Regions from separate parts of the Homo sapiens genome. Here regions 2 and 3 are each linked to region 1. The links are contacts of gene promoters, found by promoter capture Hi-C in blood cells and fetal thymus (Javierre and others, 2016). All regions are on one chromosome and are shown on one strand. Each heading gives the region's core, a stretch centred on a gene start or on the middle of the fragment in contact. The rest is flanking DNA. Distances are from core to core; before and after follow the strand shown.

What was found. Contacts are between HindIII fragments. The CHiCAGO score rates a contact against its expected background, and 5 or more counts as called.
Region 2: a contact is called between the fragment with the promoter of NR1I2 here and the fragment with the promoter of B4GALT4 in region 1, in 10 of 17 cell types (erythroblasts, M0 macrophages, monocytes and 7 more). The highest score is 15.6, in erythroblasts.
Region 3: a contact is called between a fragment that was not itself captured here and the fragment with the promoter of B4GALT4 in region 1, in 1 of 17 cell types (total B cells). The highest score is 5.0, in total B cells.

The regions. Positions count from the first base shown.
Region 1 is chr3:119,239,628-119,242,327 of GRCh38, forward strand. B4GALT4 (beta-1,4-galactosyltransferase 4) reads right to left here and starts at 1,251. Exons shown (of 8, transcript NM_003778.4): 1 at 1,223-1,251. All of the region lies in intron 3 of B4GALT4-AS1 (B4GALT4 antisense RNA 1), which reads left to right. RefSeq lists silencers at 938-1,417, 2,068-2,117. The HindIII fragment of the contact is 11,429 bases long and covers 1-1,953 here.
Region 2 is chr3:119,780,699-119,783,398 of GRCh38, forward strand. It overlaps NR1I2 (nuclear receptor subfamily 1 group I member 2), which reads left to right and starts at 1,403. Exons shown (of 9, transcript NM_003889.4): 1 at 1,403-1,602. The HindIII fragment of the contact is 6,406 bases long and covers 1-2,603 here.
Region 3 is chr3:120,098,947-120,101,646 of GRCh38, forward strand. The region is part of intron 1 of GSK3B-DT (GSK3B divergent transcript); the gene reads left to right. Among named protein-coding and RNA genes, the nearest start is that of GSK3B-DT, 5.2 kb to the left of the region's middle. The HindIII fragment of the contact is 4,151 bases long and covers 1-2,700 here.

The DNA.
Region 1 (2,700 bases), core at 1-2,500:
TCTATCCACTTCCCCTTAGATTATGTAGTCAAACAGTTCAATCCAGGTCAGTACTTTTTCACAACGTATGTTTTCAATCTGATCAAAGCTATAGGTAGACGAAAGTTATTGCAATTTCATGGGGTTTACAATTTCCATAAAGAACAAACCTGCTCTAGAAGACAAAATTCCAAAAACTTCTGAACTATATCCAATCAAGCATTATCTCCTCTCCCAAGAGAGACCTTCCAGCACTCCCCGCCTGGGTCTCGGGAATAGCCCTCCCTTCTGAATCCCAGTTTCTCAATCCGGACCCTGAATCCTATTCATCCTGATCTCTCCTTGATTTTCTTGCATCTTAAAGGTGTTATTTTCCTTTCTTTAAAAATTTAAAAAAAAAAAAAAAAGCCACAACTCGCCTCCACGCTCAGATTACCATTTTCTTTTTCCTCCTTTTCATCACCAAACGGCTGAGGAGGTCTACCAGTACCCTCACCACCGCCACGTCCCCATCCCTCACCCACTCTGGAACACTTTGCAACAGTGTGCACACCCACCCACTGTTGATAACTACTCTCCTAAGGCTACCAACCCATAGGCCTCTCCTCGATGCAGAGTCCTTTGGACTTTGTCTGTTTTTTTTCAAACCAAGAATTAACAGCCCTTATCTAATGGAAGACAGAACATCAAGGGATACAGATCAACAAACACTGGATGGCTGTCTCCGAAGTCTTTTATAATCCAGGTGACCAACCCCTTTGGAGAAAGGTCAAAGGTCGCCGGCCCCTCGCAGGACTGGGGCTGGTGTCAGCTGATCAGTTTCCCCGTTGAAACGCTGGAGAAGGAGGGTTTCCAGGAAGAAGGGGCTTTTTCAGGTTGATGCACCCGGCGGAGAAGTGCTGGGGGCGACCCCGGAATCGTGACCTGGGGTATGAATGAGCCCTGGATTTTTTCCTACCCGGCAGCACCTCGTCTGGCTCCCCCGGCCCGCAGCAGAGGCGGCGCCGCGCGGAACGCCAGCACCTGAGCCGGTGCCTCCCGCCAGGCTCGGCCTCCGTAGGCCCCCGGCCCGGCCCACCGCTCCGGCTGAGGCGGGACTGCCCCACGGACGCCGCCACGTCATCCCCACGCCCGCCCCGCTACAGCCCTGGGACTGACCCCGGCCGTCGCCCGGCTACCCTCGCACGGCGCCCGTGTCCAGGGAACTGCATTTCCCGGGCGCCGGCGGAGCCAGCGTACTCACCCCGGAGGCGGCCGCGGCGAGCTAGCACTGCCCGCGGAGAGGGGAGAACGCGGAAAGCAGCTCGGGGACCGCCCCAGCCGCCCGGGAGGCGGCTCTTGAGTACGAGCTCCGCCTCCCGCCTTGGCCGGAGAGGCTGGTCCGCCCGGCTCTGCACGCGCCTGGCGCTCCACCCCCGCCAAATCGACCACACCGGGCGCTGGAAGGAGCACCGGGAGGGAAACGGAGGGTTGACGCCTCGGCCTCTGGGTGGCTTTAAAACCCTGTGCCAATAGTAGACTGGGTGCTGAGCGCTTCCCAAATTCCATCCCCTTAAATACTCACAAAGCAGTAGGAAAGAGATAGGGACCCTTCCATTTTACAGAGTGGGAAACTGAGACTTTAGAGAGGCTAATAAACTTAATCACCCTGCGAGATTTCAGCCCTCTCAACTGCAAAAATGATAATAATAATAATAATATTTTTCCCATGTTGCAGGTCTGAGAATATTAAATGATTTTTTTAAATCCGTATTTCTTCAAAGATATTATTACAGAAAGCAAAGACAATTATATTTACACTAAAGATTTGAGTGAAAAATTATGGTAGGCTCTGTTTAGGCAGTCAGGATAGCTAGATTCTCTAATGCAGTCTCCCACTGCACTCACGGGAAAGTAGTAGATTCTCCAAGAACCACACATCCACTCCACCCAAAAAGGAACAAACCATAGCTAGAGCCAGTGCTGGGCTCATTAAGCTTCATAGCAGGAAATCTGAGGCTATACTGAGGCCGCATAGGCCCAATGTAGGCCCTTGGAAGCTGGAAAAGAGGGCCACCTAGTGGCAGTTGAGGATAGGTCAGTGAAATAGGTCAACACTGCTCCTGAACAAGGTCCAGTGTGAAACTTATTTTTTTGTGTTCCCTTTGTAACATGCTGTAAGGGTGTATAACCACATTTAGTGAAAAAGGACATTACTGGATTTCATCCAGTGGCGTTATACAATCAGTTACTTATACCCACATAGTCCCCAGGTCTTGAGCATATGATGCCTGGAAGCATAATATATACCTTTTGCAAGAATCACTCAGCTTTTCCCCTCCCCCTCCCCCTCTCTGTCTCCCTCCCCATCTCCCTCCCCCCTTTGCACGGTCCTCGTCTCCCCTTTGCATGGTCTCCCTCTGATGCCGAGCCGAGGCTGGACTGTACTGCCGCCATCTCGGCTCACGGCAGCCTCCCTGCCTGATTCCCCTGCCTCAGCCTGCCGAGTGCCTGGGATTGCAGGCGCGCACCGCCACACCTGACTGGTTTTCGTATTTTTTGGTGGAGACGGGGTTTCGCCGAGTTGGCCGGGCTGGTCTCCAGCTCCTGACCGCGAGTGGTCTGCCAGCCTCGGCCTCCCGAGGTGCCGGGATTGCAGACGGAGTCTCGCTCACTCAGTGCTCAATGTTGCCCAGGCTGGAGTGCAGTGGCTTGATCTCGGATCGCTACAACCTCCACCTC
Region 2 (2,700 bases), core at 153-2,652, 540 kb after region 1:
TCTAGGTCCTCCCTGCCTAAGGCCCAAGTCAACTTTCTGTCCAGTGGGATTTGTAATCCAATACCTCCTAGCCCTAGCAGAATCCCATGTGGATAATCAGAAATGTGACTGGAAAAAGGACAGAGCTCTATGGCTGTGGGTCCCAGTCCCCACTGCTGGCAGTAAGTCCCCAGCAGTGAGCTGTGTAAGCACCTTACATTCTGCGCTTGGTTGAAAACAGCAAGGCAAGCATCCACTTGAGAAATGTCAACCCCTAGGAAATCCCAGCCTCAAGTCTTTCTCATCCCTTGGGAAGTGCAAATTGGATAGAGAAGAAACCAATTAAAAACAAAACAAACAAATCATACTTAGATATTCTGGCTTTTCTCACCAGGGCTGGATTAAAGCATGTACTTCAAAATAATAACAACTTAAGTCAATAAATAAATGTAAGGAAGTCCAAATGTTCACCTGAAGACAACTGTGGTCATTTTTTGGCAATCCCAGGTTCTCTTTTCTACCTGTTTGCTCAATCGTGGTCTCCCTCTCCCTCTCTTGTTGGGGCCCATGCCCCTGCTTTACTGTTGCCAGAGGCTTGTACTTGTTTGCCTTTTAGGTAGGAGCAGTTACTTCCACTCCCCTCACCTGCCATAAAGCATCTTTATAAACAAAGCAAGTAGAAGAAACACATCCTGGTATCCACCACATTCGGCTTTTGTTGATTCTGTTCACTTGGGAGCACCTGCTGCTAGGGAATAAGAAGGTTGAGGCTGAAGAGTGAGGACTCTTCAGCTCCCCTCTGGCAGGACCCGGGAGAGGAAAGAGCCCTCAGCTGGTCCATCCTCCCCACTCCTGGTCAGCCTTCTGTTCTGAGATCAAAGTGGTGGGGTCACATTCTCGAGAACTGTGCTCAGCCCCCTCATCTCACACCCTTTCCCTCTCCCTGTGTGCCTGCCCCCCTCTTACATAACCATGCTGGTGATTGGCACCGTCATAAATCAATACTTTGCTCACTTTCACATCAAGTAACACTATCCAGGGAGGTGGTTTCAACAAAGGAGGAAGTATAAGGAGATCTAGGTTCAAATTAATGTTGCCCCTAGTGGTAAAGGACAGAGACCCTCAGACTGATGAAATGCACTCAGAATTACTTAGACAAAGCGGATATTTGCCACTCTCTTCCCCTTTTCCTGTGTTTTTGTAGTGAAGAGACCTGAAAGAAAAAAGTAGGGAGAACATAATGAGAACAAATACGGTAATCTCTTCATTTGCTAGTTCAAGTGCTGGACTTGGGACTTAGGAGGGGCAATGGAGCCGCTTAGTGCCTACATCTGACTTGGACTGAAATATAGGTGAGAGACAAGATTGTCTCATATCCGGGGAAATCATAACCTATGACTAGGACGGGAAGAGGAAGCACTGCCTTTACTTCAGTGGGAATCTCGGCCTCAGCCTGCAAGCCAAGTGTTCACAGTGAGAAAAGCAAGAGAATAAGCTAATACTCCTGTCCTGAACAAGGCAGCGGCTCCTTGGTAAAGCTACTCCTTGATCGATCCTTTGCACCGGATTGTTCAAAGTGGACCCCAGGGGAGAAGTCGGAGCAAAGAACTTACCACCAAGCAGGTATGGTTTTTCTTTCTTTCTCTTTTGCTGGGGGCTGACCGCCCTTCAGCTCCAGCCAAAAGATGTGTGTGAACACAAATATACCTTCTGTTTGAGGTCAGCATCATAGTGGGTCGTGAATCATGTTGGCCTTGCTGCTGTCTCCTCATTTCTAGGGTGGAAAAAAAAAAGCATGAAAACAATCACTTAATGTTGAGCCCCATTACTGATGCTCTCTGGTCCTGCACTAGCCTCCTAGAAAAATCACCACAGGAGAAGCCTTAACTACTGCATGAGTTACCACAAGTCACACATACAACCAGCTCCCTGTTACAGGGCTGGAGTCCCTGGACCCAGGAAATACCACCTCCAAGGACTGTGGGAGCTGGGGACTATGGGAACTGGGATCAACTCAGTCCTGATTCCTTTTGGCCTGCTGGGTTAGTGCTGGCAGCCCCCTGAGGCCAAGGACAGCAGCATGACAGTCACCAGGACTCACCACTTCAAGGAGGGGTCCCTCAGAGCACCTGCCATACCCCTGCACAGTGCTGCGGCTGAGTTGGCTTCAAACCAGTGAGTTTTCTACCTCTACTATTGAAAGGGCACCTTGTCCCACAGAACCGAGTCTTGCCTGCATGTGGTCAGTGCCACCAGGTCCTTCTTCTCTCCACTTTACAGCCCAGCTCGGCTGAAGCTATGGCCAGAGGCACTGCTTTAAGGCCACTCCATATCTAGGACAGGTCAACAGACACCTCTGAGGCCACTGAGTCTTGACTCAATGAATCAGCTATAGCAGGCACTATTCCTCTCCCACATGGCCTCTAATGATATGGTCAGAGTTGAAAGGATGCTAAGGGAGGCCTCAGAGGCTTATTTAATCAGTTGGTTAATGGGAAAAAGTATTTTGTGGTACACAAATACGCTTTAAAAATATTTTAGTTATGTCATAAAAGTCTAAACCTGGGGTTGACAAACTATGGCTCACAGGCTAACTCTGGCCCACCAGCTGTTTTTATAAATGAAGCTTTATTGGAACACAGCCATGCCCATTCGTTATGTATTGTATATGGCTGTTTTTGCCCTACAACATCCTTTCAACTCTGGCCATATCATTAGAGG
Region 3 (2,700 bases), core at 7-2,506, 860 kb after region 1:
TAGAGAAGACTAATGGAAGATAAGGTTGAAAAGGTAGGTTTGAGGGAGCTTTGTTACAGGAAAAAAAAAAAAAAAAAACTGGGCTTTGTCCTGTAGACAGTGGAGAGGTACTTTAGCAGATGTAAGACATTACCATTATAGGAAAGCCTCTGAAGTAACATACACTGTGGTTTTTCCTGTTGCTGAAAATATGCCCAGAGTAACAAGATGTGGCATAGTTGGTTATGTGTCTTATAACCAGTGAGGTGTGCCCAAATGGGAAATTAATGAATGACTACCCAAAAAGAAGAGGGAGAGTGTTTGAAACACTGTCACTGTGAAATAGACTGGTTGTATGAAAAGTTGCATATCAAGCCTTTGGCAAATTATATAAATACTCTGATTTTGACATCTTAAAGGAGTATACTATAGAAAATAAAAGAAAAACACTTGAATCTGTTACAGGAAACGGGTCATGATCCAGACCCCAGGAGAGGGTTCTTGGATCTCACACAAGAAAGAATTCAGGGTGACCCCACAGTGCAAAAGTCAAAGCAAGTATTAAGAAAATGAAGGAATAACAGAATGGCTACTACATAGAGCAGCCCTGAGGGCTGCTGGTTGCCCTTTTTTTTTTTTCCTTTGAGATGGAGTTTTCGTTCTTGTTGCCCAGGCTGGAGTGCAATGGCGTGATCTCGGCTCACCACAACCTCCACCTCCCAGGTTCAAGCAATTCTGCCTCAGCCTCCCGAGTAGCTGAGATTACAGGCATGCGCCACCACGCCCGGCTAATTTTGTGTTTTTAGTAGAGTGAGGGTTTCTCCATGTTGGTCAGGTTGGTCTTGAACTTCCGACCTCAGTTGATCTGCCCGCCTTGGCCTCCCAAAGTACTGGGATTACAGGCATAAGCCACCGCACCTGGCCTGGTTGCCCATTCTTTATGGTCGTTTCTTGATGATATGCTAACCAAGGAGTGGATTAATCATGCCTCCCCTTTTTGGACCACATAGGGTCTAAACTGTCATGGCACATTTGTAAACTGTCATGGCACTGGTGGGAGTGTAGCAGTGAGGACGACCAGAGGTCACTCTCGTCGCCATTTTGGTTTTGGTGGGTTTTGGCCAGCTCCTTTACTGCAACCTGTTTTATCAGCAAGGTCTTTAAGACCTGTATTTTGTGCTGACCTCCTATCTCATCCTGTGACTTAGAATGCCTTAACTGACCATCTGGGAATGCAGCCCAATAGATTTCACCCTCATTTTGCCCGGCTCCTGTTTAAGATGGAGTTGCTCTGGTTCACATGCCTCTAACAAATCCTTTTAGTTTTTCATGCTTGTCACATGTTTACTTCTAAGGGTATAATCATGTGGTTTACTATATTATTACCGATTAGATTATTTTGAACTACTTCAATTTTATTTATTTTACCTCATTTCCATTCACATTTTTTGAAAAGAGCTTTTTTATACAAGAGTGTAAATATTTTCACATTGAATAAATGAATTGAAAACAGTATGTGTTGATTGAATACTTGAAGTATACTTCTTTACAGCAAATTCTAGGAATTCAGCTTTGTTTTATGTGCATTAAAATGTAATAAATATAGGCCTGAGAAATTCTCAGAACAAATATTTTAGGCCCTCAGTAGCTGTAAATCGGGAACGGTCAGATTTCCTTCACATGGAAATGGGACTCACATCTCTCAGAATGGAACAGAAGTCTTTTGGTCTTTAATCTATGTCATGTTGATGGGAAATGTGAAAGCTACAAGAAAATTGGTATTTGGTTTCTTGGATATTGAATATCCTTGGCCAGGGGTGCAGGGAAGTGAAAAAAAAGTAAGACCTCCTATGGATCATCCAAAAAGGAATTTCAGAATGCAGAGAGGACTGGTCTCCCTTAATCAGGCCAAAACTTTATTTGAATTGTATCAGGATGCTTCATTCCTGTGCCCTGTAGGATGGAATCTTGAAAGAAAATGGGAAGGAATGTACAAAGCCTCAAGGAATGTGTTTCTCTGTAACATCTAGATCAGACAGTAGTATGAAGTGCCAGATATGAAACCAGAAAGGATCCTTATGAGAGTTTATAGCTCAGTTTTAAGATGTTTTACTATCTCTGCTGTCTTATTTTTTTATTTTTATTTTTAGAGATGGGGTCTCGCTCTGCTGCCCAGGCTGGAGTGCAGTGGTGTGATCATAGCTCACTGCAACCTCAAACTCCTGGGCTCAGGTCAACCCTCCTGCCTCAGCCATGCCCTGCCACTGCCCCCTTCCCCCGCAGTAGCTGGGGCTACAAGTGCATGCCACCACACCCAGCTATTTTAATTACTTTGTAGAGACAGGGTCTTGCCATGTTGTCCAGGCTGGTGCTGTTGTTCTTTATTTTTACAATGTATATTGTGTATGCACTAGTAGTGTTCAGTACTTGAAGATAAAAGTAGTAATTTAGGAAAAATAACCATTATTCCCCTAACTAAATCTTGCTACTCTTAGGACCAGTTAGGAGTCTTAGGAAAATATCAACTCTGATTGTTTTTTCTTTTCTGTTTGTTTGTTTTTATTGTTGTTGTTATTGTTTAGATAATTTGTTGCTCTGTCACCCAGGCTGGAGTGCAGATGTGTGATCATGGCTCACTGCAGCCTACCTCCAGGGATAAAGCAATCCTCCCGCCTTAGCCTCCCAAGTAGCTGGGACTTACAGGCACACAACTGACCTAGC